Regions from separate parts of the Homo sapiens genome. Here region 2 is linked to region 1. The links are contacts of gene promoters, found by promoter capture Hi-C in human tissues and cell types (Jung and others, 2019). All regions are on one chromosome and are shown on one strand. The core of a region is centred on a gene start or on the middle of the fragment in contact, and the rest is flanking DNA. Distances in the headings are between cores, read along the strand shown.

Region 1 (5,728 bases), core at 1,729-4,228:
ACTCAAGACAGCTAACAGTCCAGGCAGGTACAGACTGGAAGCCCACCCAGACCACGGGGAACCAGGCCCTGCAGCTCATCTCACCTCACTCTGTCACCTGTGCCTTCCCAGGGAAAATATCTAAATCTTGGGCTTTCAGTGATGGGGGCTTTCTCTATTCCGCAGACGGTAAGAGTTCTAAGAGCCCTCTGCCAATCCTGGAGAACCCCCCAGATATCCCTATCCAGGCAGGTTAGGGGTTGATAGGGCCTACTGAGGTCCCAGATCACCCCATACCCCTGCCACCTCATCCTACACATGATGTGTAAAGTGGGACCTCTGTTCCCCACCCTACAACTGTGAGCAGAACCCCTTCCTCTGCTCCAGCACAGCCACTGCCATAGAGCAGCTCCCCATGAATACCAGCTAATGCCCTCCTGCCCAGACCGCCCAGCTTGTAAGCTGGGTGCAAGGACCACCCCACAAGGGGTCGCCCAGGCGGGAGGAGTCCCCTACCCCTGGACAGCTCAGGCCCCAGAAAATGTGCATTCTGGGGTATAACTGGCTTCCAAGTACTGCCCAGGCCAGGCCCTGAGCCAACGCTCCTGGTCAGGTGTGCTCAGCCAACACCTGTTGCACCCTTCTGCCTCACCCCTGCCATCAGCTCAACCATGTCACCAGAAACTCACTGGCTGGACTTTCCACAAAAGGTCAGGCCCCACCAGAGGGCAGGGCACAGCCCTCCTTCTAACTCACATGAGCCAGAGGAAAGGGGTGATGTCACCTCAATGGAGGGAGGACAGGCTCCTGGGGCAACCAGCAGCAAGCCTGAACAGAGAAAATTTTCAAAACAAAAAAGATTCCACTGCAGGGAGGAGGGAGGTGAGCTTGGGAGCCTCTGAGTGCCCCCAAGTTTCCCTCCCCAATGCTCAGCCCCTGAGGCTTCGGGTCATGTGGCCCAGCCCACGAGCCAGTGATGCCAAGCCCTAGAGCGCGGGGCACTTGGGGCCGGCTCCTCTGGGAGCAGCACCTCTCCAAGTGCCAGGCATGAGCTCTGGGGTCAGGCAGCCAGGGTCCCAACTCCTGTTCCACCTCTGACTATCCTAGAGGCCTGGGCAAAGAGAAGGTCGTGCCAGCCCAGCTGGCCACTAGGCCCAGGAGCTCCTGAAGCATCAGGGAGAATCTTCTAGAGCATCAAAAAGAATCCACAACCCAGGACGCTTTATCATCCCCAGTCTATGGCAAAGGAAACTAGATATCAAGACCATCGTCATGGGAATAAACATAATAGGCACCGTCAGGAGCACTGATTCTAGGACAGATACTGTGCTCATTTAATCCTCCCAACATCCCATGGGGTGGGCACTCATATCAGTTCCACTTTATAAACAGAGAAACTGAGGTGCAAGAGGCTAAGCTGGCTAATCTGGTGAGTGACAGGGCTGTGTGGGGTTCCAGCGACTGTGCCCTGATCACTGCAGTCAATATGTAAGCCAGATTTCTCTTAGCGATGCAGTTCCCATCAGCTGAGCCAGAGCTGCTCCCTCTGCCAGCGCCACTCCCACCCCCACAGGGGAATGGGGCAGTTTGGGCCAGATAGGGACAAAGTCTGGCTGTGTCCAGAATGGCCCGGTGCAGGAACACTGTTTTATAAACACTAAACAGTCTGGGTTGGCCACTGGGCACTGTTGTGACCTTGACCCAGCCTGGCAGGAGGGCAGCCTGCCACCCACCCCCACCTGCATCCCAGCAGGGCATGAGGGCTCAGTATCTAGAGCCAGAGCCCAAGCCAGCCCTACTAGTTCCTGCCCATACAGTCAAGGACAGCAACAAGGAGTGAGAGTCAGGTGCCCTGTGCAACCCCCTGCCCAGTCCAGACTCCAGCAGAGTTGCCCTGGGTATCTCTTGGGGGTCTCTTCTCTGAGGACAAGGTCACATAGCATCCCCAACCCAACCTCAGAACCTCAACCCAACCCCAGAAAACTGCCGACACCATGGCCACTAAGACTCCCACACACACAACCCTGTCTGGGGTGCCCTAGTGAGGACTACTCCCTAATGCACCCATTGCAGAGATCAGTAAACAGAGGCCGGGAAGGGTTCTCCCCAGAGGGCCCTCCAAGCTGGGCAGCAGCAGAGCCTGGATTCTCTCAGCAGCAGGTCTACTCTGACCCCACTTTCTGAGAAGCAGATGAGCTTTTGCTCAGCAACAAACCGCAATTCTATTTAGTTGGGGCCTGTTCCAAGACACTGGGGAGGGGCTGCTAGGGCCTGCTTGAGCCAGGTGGCCGAGGGGCGTCAAAGGGTCTCTCCGGTTCGGCGAATGCGTACTGCAGCCTGCTGTGGCCTCGGGATTACCCCGTCCCCCTCCCACATCTCCCGGGGGGCGGAAGAAGCGCATCCCATGCAAGCAGCGACCTCAGGCCATGCCGCCCTCTCTCAGGCCTCAGTTTTCTCATCTGTAATCGGAGACCGCGGTTAAAACCGTCTATTAGGCTCCTTGGTAGTCCGAAGCTGCCTATGGGTCCCGCCAGGTGCACAGCGCTGACCCTCCCCATCCCCCGCACAGCCCTCGCAGCTCCGGGCCCTCCCCTGGCCACGGAAGGCGCGGGGCAGTCTGAAGTCCTCGGGCTGGAGAAACCCACCGCGAGCACCCGCTCCTCTGCGCAGGACCCTGGACTAGCCGGGTGGTACGCGCGCGATGGGCTGGGGGTCCCGGGGGAGGCCACGGCCAGCCAAGGTCAGAGCCAAGGTCACAGTCTGTTCCTCCTCCCCCTCCCCCCGGCGGGGCCAGACTCAGGGCTGCGGGCAGCGGCGCCCCAGGACCCAGGAGAGAGGAGCTGTGGGGCCGGTCCCCAGGACGGCAGGAGAAGCAGCGGCGCAGGGACCGGGAGGGGGCGGGCCGCCGCGCTCACCGGGCGGGCGGGCCGGGTCCGCGCTGCAGCGAGGTCCGGAGGCTGCAGGTCAGGGGGCTGCGCGGAAGGGGTGCGCGCGCGCCGTGCCAATTACCTGGGTCACGTGACGCAGCCGCCCACGGGCGCGCGCCCCTGAGACTCCGCGCGTCGTGACGTCTCCATGGATGCCCCGCCCCGCTCCTGGCGCTGTCCACGGTGCTGGCGGCCCAGGCCCGAGGTCGCCCACGGCCGAAGGGGGGACTCCTCTCTGAGACCGCAGAACGGGGCTGAGGCCCTGAACCCCGTGTGCTCGTCCTAAAACTAGGACGAATGTACCAGACGACAAGCAGCCTTTGTGTGTAGGAGAGGATAGGTTTTGTTTTGTCGTCTGTAAAATGGGAATGCTATGAAAAGTTCCACTATCTTAGGGATGTTTTGAAAAAAAGATGAGATAATGCGTGAAAAGTGCTTACCCCAAATCTGATACACATTTTACCCATTCATCCTCCCACTGATGGTGACCCAGGCTGTCCTCACCACCCCGTGGCCACAAACAAGGCTGCAATGAACTTCTTCATACACATTCCCTTAGGATCCTGCGTGGAACTTTCTCTGGGATAGAGATCAACTTTCTAATTATTATCAGAATAGCAGATGCAATGTCCTGTTATTGTTTTAATCTGCATTTCTCTGGTTATCAACCATTTGCATCTCCCGTTGTTTGTTAGTTTGGGGTTTTCTGTTGTATTTTTTTCAGCTTTCTGTTGGGTTTTGTTCTCATTTAAATGCAGGGATTTCTTGTATAGGAACATAACATACCTGTGGTTCAAGTTGCCATCAAATCTCTCCTGGATTATCGCAGCAGCCTCCTAACTGGCTTCTCTGCTTCTACACTTACACTCTTGAATTTTAATCTCAAAACTACAGTATGCACTTCACAAGAATATATTCAAGTACATATCAAACCAATTAATATGGTTGCTTGTCGAGGGAGGAGGATGGGGAATGTGGATATGAGGTAATTAATCAATTACCCAGATCACTGCTGACAGAGTGCCACGAAGAAAGGAATACAACTAACTTCTGCACCTGAAGTCTCCCAAAAGTTCTTTATTTGGAGACAGTTAGGGATACATGTGGTCAAGAATCTTCAGCACTTAACACAGCACTATCATGGTATTTTTCAGTAAATATTTGTTGAATGAATGACTGAGTGAGTAAATGGACACTTGACTTGGATCCTGAAGGATGAGTAAGATTTTATCTGGTGCAGAAGGGCAGGGTTCATTGGGAATTCTTTGGACACAAGCACCAAAAATGACCTGGCTAGCTTCAGCCGAAAACGAGTTGATATGAAGGTTGTATATAAGGCAACTCACAGAATCAGAGGAAAGCTGAAAATTTACTTCAGGAAGCAGGGCTGAGCCATAGAGGAACTGTCTCTTCAAGGCTCTTCTGTTTTTCAAAATTCAAATTCCGGGTGAGAGGCAGTAATGTACTTGCAGTAGAGACGGAGTAAGGTGGCCAGATTTGAGAGACTTACGGGGATCAGCTCCACGGGGTTTAGTGGTTGACCAGATATGAGGGTGGAGACATAGATAACTCACAGGTGTCTGGCTTTAGTGACTTGGGCACAGTGGAACTTCTCAGTGAGCTAGGGAAAAGGAGAAGCTGCAGTTTGGGGTAATAGTGGAAAAGTTTACAAGTCAGAGTCACCGATTAAGAAAGATGGAAAGCCTGACACAGAGCAGCAGGCAGGAACAAGGCTCTTGCAAATCAAAAGGCTTCAGAGCCTTTCAGCCTTCCAGCCTAATTGGTGTTCTGCTAATTGCATTGATTAAAGCAAACATTTGGGGCAATCAACGCTCCCATGAGGGTGGCTGCCATTCTCAGAAGCCTGAGAGGATTAGTGGCAGTGGCTGTAGGCTTTGCAGAGATCTTCAGAAACAGACACCTTTCTTTTTTTCCCATGCCTGTGGCGTGTGTGTGTGTGTGTGTGTGTGTGTGTGTGTGTGTGTGTCAGAACATGGAAGTTTTTATTTATTCTAGTTGTACAGAACTTAAATGATACAGAAGGATACAGAACAAAATGTGAAAAGCCCCCTTCCACCTGCCCCAACCTCACCTCTTTTTTTTCCTTCCAGAGATAACTACTGGCCAGTTTGGCAAACATTTTTACAAAATTGTTTATGTATTTATATCCATATGCTTCTACAAACATATACATAAAAATATGAAATGGATCACACTAGAATATAGTTCCACGACTTGTTTCTTTTTTTCCCTTGTCTTGAAGATTTTTATTTAAACTCAGTATGTGTAGGACCACCTCATTCTTTTTCATGGGTATGTTGTATTCATTATAGGGATGTATGGTGACTGTATGTCACTTCTCTCCCATTGAATGAACATTTCCATTTCTTTTGACATTTACAGAAAAAAAAGGAGAAAAGAGTCCTCCTATATATTCCCTTTAGTACATGCAAAACTACTATGGTAACATTGATTTCTCTTTCTTTCTTTCTTTCTTTCTTTTTTTCTTTTTTTTTTTTTTTTTCAAGATGGAGTCTTGCTCTGTCACCAAGGCTAGAGTGCAGTGGCTGGATCTCAGCTCACTGCAACCTCCACCTCCCAGGTTCAAGCAATTCTTCTGCCTCAGCCTCCTGAGTAGCTGGGATTACAGGCTCCCACCACCATGCCTCGCTAATTTTTTTATTTTTAGTAGAGATGGAGTTTCATCATGTTGGCCAGGCTGGTCTTGAACTCCTGACCTCATCATCCCCCACCTTGGCCTCCCAAGTGCTGGGATTATGGGAGTGAGCCACCATGCCCAGCCTGATTTCTAAATTAAGTTT
Region 2 (5,728 bases), core at 1,533-4,032, 35 kb after region 1:
GCATGGTGGTGGGCACCTGTGGTCCCAGCTATTCAGGAGGCTGAGTTGGGAGGACCGCTTGAACCGGGGAGACAGAGGTTGCAATGAGCTGAGATCATGCCACTGCACTCCAGCCTGGGTAACAGAGCCAGACCCTTCTCAAAAAAAAAAAAAAAAAAAAAAAAAAAGCCAAATAAAATGGTTGAATCCAAGCAGTGATTTTTTTTAATCTCAGCAGAATAGTAACAACAGATTTTAAGCAGCAAAAAATAAAACAGAGAAATAGAGAACTTAAGAACTCCGTAGTTGCAGGTGGACCATTGGGCTCTGAATTTTTCCGTGATGTAATTTACCCATCAGTTCAAAATGTGCACAACAGACCATAGTATGTAACCAGCTCGACTACTAGAAAACCTGGCGTGCCTTTGGACTTTTCGTTTACTTTTCTTTCTTTTTTCTTTCTTTCTTTTTTTTTTTTTTTTTAAGACAGGGTCTCTCTCTGTTGTCCAGACTGGAGTGCAGTGGCGTGATCTCAGCTCACTGCAATTTCCACCTCCCAGGTTCAAGCGATTCTCCCGCCTCAGCCTCCTGAGTAGCTGGGATTACAGCACCTGCCATCATGCCCGGCTAATTTTTCTATTTTTTGGTAGAGACCAGGTCTCACCATGTTGTCTTGAGCTCGAACTCCTGAGCTCAAGCATCCTTCCACCTCAGCCTCCCAAAGTGTTGGGATTACAGGTGTGAGCCACTGCACCCAGCCAGACGTTTTTTTTATTTCGTACAAACACTTGCAAGTAGAGCTGCCATAAAACCAATGGGCTGTCCAAAAGGCGGTTGTTGTTTTTTTTTTTTTTCCTCATTCTTAGATTATTTGTGTCCCACTTTTTTTTTTTTTTTAAGGAGGAACTGAGCTGTGGCCTAGGGTTTAGTATGGTGGCTCAAAATGTGCTGCTTGTGGGCGGGACTCCAGTGTGTCACTACTGAGTCGTTTCTGCCCGCTAATGTGTGTCAGTTTCCCTCTCCGGAGGTCTGTCATCTCCAAGAGGGCTTGAAACACAGAGTTATCAGCTCTTATATGCATTTCCTGGGTGTGCTTTTGAAACTAATTTTGTTGGAGGATTCCCTGCTGCAGGGCCGCTGCATATTACAAGGAGTCAATCCCTTAGAGGCTCCCACTCCAGCCCCTTGTCATCTAGGGTCACCTTCAGGCTGAGAGGAGCAAAATCCCCTCTCTCTTCAGAGCTAAGGAGCTCAGACTCTCATTTATCTATGAAAAGGGCAGTTCAGTTGCTCATGCAAATGCACAGACAAGAAAATTGAGCTTAATTTTGGGAGAAAAAGCAATGGAGAAGACCCTTTAGAATGCAACTCTGAACTAGAATTAGGATCCTAAACAATTTCCTAGGCGGAAAAAAAAAAAAAACCAGCTCAAAATAAATCAAGGATCATTTATAAACCAAAGGGAGGTCCAGGACTCGTGAAGACTTCCCAGTTCCACTGGAGGAGAAGCTCGAAGTCGGGAAGGTTTCAATGGGCCCCTGCTGGTACCTTAGCTCCAAGAACAGGCAACTCCTTCTGGGTCATGAATCTTCTCTGAGGCCCCACGTGTTTGGGCACCAAATTACTGTTGACAAAAAGAGCCAAACCCTGTAAAATATTTGAAGAGATTTGTTCTGAGCCAAATATGAGTGACAGCCCGAGGAGATCCTGAGAACATGTGCCCAAGGTGGTCATCGTGCAGCCTAGTTTTATACATTTTAGGGAGACGTGAGACATCATTCAAATACGTGTAAGATTTACATTGGTTCAATCTACATTGAACAGGGAGTGGTGGGAAGACTTCCAGGTCATAGGTAGACTTAAAAATTTTCTAACTGGCACCCAGGTGCCATAGCTCATGCCTGTAATACCAGCACTTCGGGAGGCTGAGGCAGGAAGATCACTTGAGGTCAGGAGTTCAAGACCAGCCTGGCCAACATGGTGAAACCCCATCTCTACTAAAAATACAAAAATTAGCTGGGCGTGGTGGTGCGCACCTGTAATCCCAGCTACGCAGGACGCTGAGGCTGGAGAATCGCTTGAACCCAGGAGGCAGAGGTTGCAGTGAGCAACCACTGTTCTACTGTGTGGAGATCGTGCCACTGCACTCCAGTCTGGGCAACAAAGCAAGACTCCGTCCCAAAAATAAATAAAATAAAACAAAATAAAATTTTTCTGATTAGCAATGGGTTATTATCAATGGAAAGGAAAGTTTGGGTTATGATAAGGGGTTTTATCATGCAGATGAAGCCTCCAGGTAGCAGGTTTCAGAGAGAACAGATTGTAAATATTTCTTATCAGACTTAAAAGAGGTTTATCAGTAATTCCAAAAGGGAGGGGGTATAAACGAGGCATGTCTGGCTACCCTTCCCATCACGGCCTGAACTAGGTTTTTTTGGTTTGGTTTTGTCTTTTTGAGACAAGGTCTCATCTGTTGCCCAGGCTGGAGTACAGAGGCACAATCTTGGCTCACTGCAACCTCCACCTCCCAGGTTCAAGCAATTCTCGCATCTCAGGCTCCCGAGTAGTTGGGACCACAGGTGTGAGCCATCATGCCCAGCTAATTTTTTTGTATTTTTGGTGGGGATGGGGTTTTACTATGTTGCCCAGGCTGGTCTTGAACTGAGCTCAAGTGATCCACCTGCCTTGGCCTTCAAAAGTGCTCGGATTACAGGTGCGAAGAACCACCCCCAGACTGAAGTAATTTTTCAGGTTAACTTTGGAACACCCTTGGCCTGGAAGAGGGGTCCATTAAGATGGTTAGGGGGCTTAGAATTTTATTTTTGGTTTATGGAGTCTGGAGATAGATTCACACACCTTCATTAATTTTTTTTTTTTTTTTTTTGAGACGGAGTCTCGCTCTGTCACCCAGGCTGGAGTGCAGTGGTGCGATCTCGGCTCACTGCAAGCTCCCCTCCTGGGTTCATGCCATTCTCCTGCCTCAGCCTCCCTAGTAGCTGGGACTACAGGCGCCCGCCACTACACCCAGCTAATTTTTTTGTCTTTTTAGTAGAGATGGAGTTTCACCATGTTAGCCAGGATGGTCTCCATCTCCTGACCTCGTGATCCACCTGCCTCAGCCTCCCAAAGTGCTGAGATTACAGGCGTGAGCCCCCCTGCCCAGCACCTTCATTAATTTTTGATGAAGTTCCCAAGGCAATTCAATGAGGAAAGAAGTCTTTTCAACAAGTGATGCTGAAATAAATGAACATTTATGCAAAAAAAAAAAGAACCCTGACCCCTACTTTATCACATATACAAAAATTTACTTGAAATGGATCTTAGACTTAAATTTAAAACCTAAAACTCCAAACTTTTAGAAGAAAATATAGGAGGAAAATCTCTGTGAACTTTGGTCAGGCAAAAATGTATTAGATAGGACACAGGTGGCACAGGCCATTACATTTTTGAAATAAATTTTACTTTACCTTACTTTTAAAAAGCCTGTTGAAAGACACTGTTAAGAAAATGAAAAAATAAGACACTGACTGAATAACATATTTGCCAAACACATATCTGATAAAGGATTTATATCCAGAAAACATAAAGAATATTTAAAATTTAATAATAATTCCAGTGAGTTTAGCTAAAATTAAGAAACCTGGCCGGGCATGGTGGCTCATGCCTGTAATCCGAGCACTTTGGGAGGCCAAGGTAGGCAGAATGCTTGAGCTCAGGAGTTTGAGACCAGCCTGGGCAACATGGTGAAATCCCATCTCTATAAAACATACTCGAGTTAGCCGTGCATGGAGGCACACTCCTGTAGTCTCAGCAACTTAGGAGGCTGAGGCAGGAGGATCACTTGAGCCTGGGAGTCAGAGATCACAGTGAGCTGAGATCACTTCACTGCACTCCAGCCTGGGCGATGGAGCTAGACTCTGTCTCAAAAATAAATAAATAAATAAATTTAATTTAATTAAGAAACCCAAGGATACCAAGTGTGGGTGAGTATTCAGGGCAAATACCATTCTCATATACTGCTGGCGAAAGGACAAAATAGTGCAGCCACATTGGAAAGCACTTTGGCAGTTTCTTTTAAAGTTGACTATACAACCCAACCATCCGACTTTTGGGGTTTTACCCAAGGGAAGTGAAAATACATATCCACACAAAGCCCAAATGTTTCTAGCGGCTTTATTCATAACCACGAAAACCTGGAAACAACCCAGTGTCCATCAACTGGTGAATGAATAAACAAATTATGGTACCTCTATACAATGGAATACTGCTCAGTAATAGGAATGAGTTACTGATAACTGATATGCTACAACATAGATCACTCTCAAAAAATGTGTGCTAAGTGAAAGAAGTTAGATAAAAAGATAAATGATGCATTCAAGATGAATGAATGACTCCATCACATTCTGGAAAAAGCGAAACTATAGGAACTGAACTCATATCAATGTTTGATAGAGGGGCTAGACCATAGGGAGGGGATTGACTTCAAGGGGCAAGGCAGAACTTTGGGCAGTGAACCTGTTATAGTTATGGTACAAATTGAAATGCTGTGTTATAGTTTTCTTCTGCTCCATAGTTTTAGGGAGAGTTTCATGGGCTGAAATATTCTGATTCTTTTTGTTTTCTTCTTGTGGCGTTGTGTGGATGGAAACTGCCCGTGTGCATGCATTCCGTGAATGGGATTGGGAGGCTGGGTGGTTTACAAAATCCCTCCTCCCTCTTCTGTCACTGCCGGACTGTCCTTGCATTTTCCCTAATAGATGGCTTTAGGGAAGGGTGTGTGTATGAAGGAGTATTTCATGTGTCCTTCAACTTTTTGGCTCTCTTCTGTCTTCCAATAGTCTATATCCCTCTCTTGTTCTTTCCCTTTCACCACTCAGGTTTCAAGAACCATTCTTTCTCCTTTTTCTACCTTTTTTTGTCTCGCTCTGTCACCCAGGCTGGAGTGCAGTGGCACAATCTCGGCTCACAGCAACCTCCGCCTCCCGGGTTCAAGCAATTCTCCTGCCTCAGCCTCCTGAGTAGCTGGGATTACAGGCACGTGCCACCATGCCCAGCTAATTTTCATAATTTTAGTAGAGATGGGGTTTCACCATGTTGGTCAGGGCTGGTCTCGAACTCCTGACCTCATGATCCGCCTGCCTCGGCCTCCCAAAGTGCTGGGATTACAGGCATGAGCTACCGTGCCTGGCCTTTTCTAGCATTTTTGTGAGGATGCTCAAATATACAGAAAATAATTCTCCAGCAAGCACTCATATACTCATCACTTAGATTCTACAATTGGCATTTTATAATTACTGCTTTCCCACATGTTGCTGAAACTATCCCTCTCTCCCTGCACTAATCCATACTGTGTTGATACATTTCAAAGTAAATTGTACACATCTGTCCATTTCCCCTTAGACACTTTATCATATCTATCATTAAATAGAGCTCAATATTTCTTTGCAGTTTTTAAATGTAAAATCTACATACAATGAAATTCACAAATATCCAGTATGTATTGCTAAATGTTGACAATTGCATAGTTCTGTTTAACCCAAACTCCTATCAAGATATAGGATATCATCATCAACCCCAGATAGTTTTCTTATGTTCCTCAGTAAATCTTCCACCCCATACTCACAGACAACATCGTTCTGATGTCATCATGGGTTTTTTTTTTTTCTGCCTGTTCTAGAATTTCATATGAACTGCAACTGTATGGTGTGTACTCTTTTGCATAAGCTTATTTCACTTAGCATGTTTTTGA

What was found. Contacts are between HindIII fragments. The study calls those that stand out against the background at their distance.
Region 2: a contact is called between a fragment that was not itself captured here and the fragment with the promoter of OGDHL in region 1, in 1 of the 25 tissues and cell types used here (stomach).

The regions. Positions count from the first base shown.
Region 1 is chr10:49,759,345-49,765,072 of GRCh38, forward strand. OGDHL (oxoglutarate dehydrogenase L) reads right to left here and starts at 2,979. Exons shown (of 23, transcript NM_018245.3): 1 at 2,895-2,979. RefSeq lists a silencer at 2,730-2,939. The HindIII fragment of the contact is 26,824 bases long and covers 1-5,728 here.
Region 2 is chr10:49,794,373-49,800,100 of GRCh38, forward strand. No RefSeq gene overlaps it. Among named protein-coding and RNA genes, the nearest start is that of OGDHL, 35 kb to the left of the region's middle. The HindIII fragment of the contact is 7,341 bases long and covers 1-5,728 here.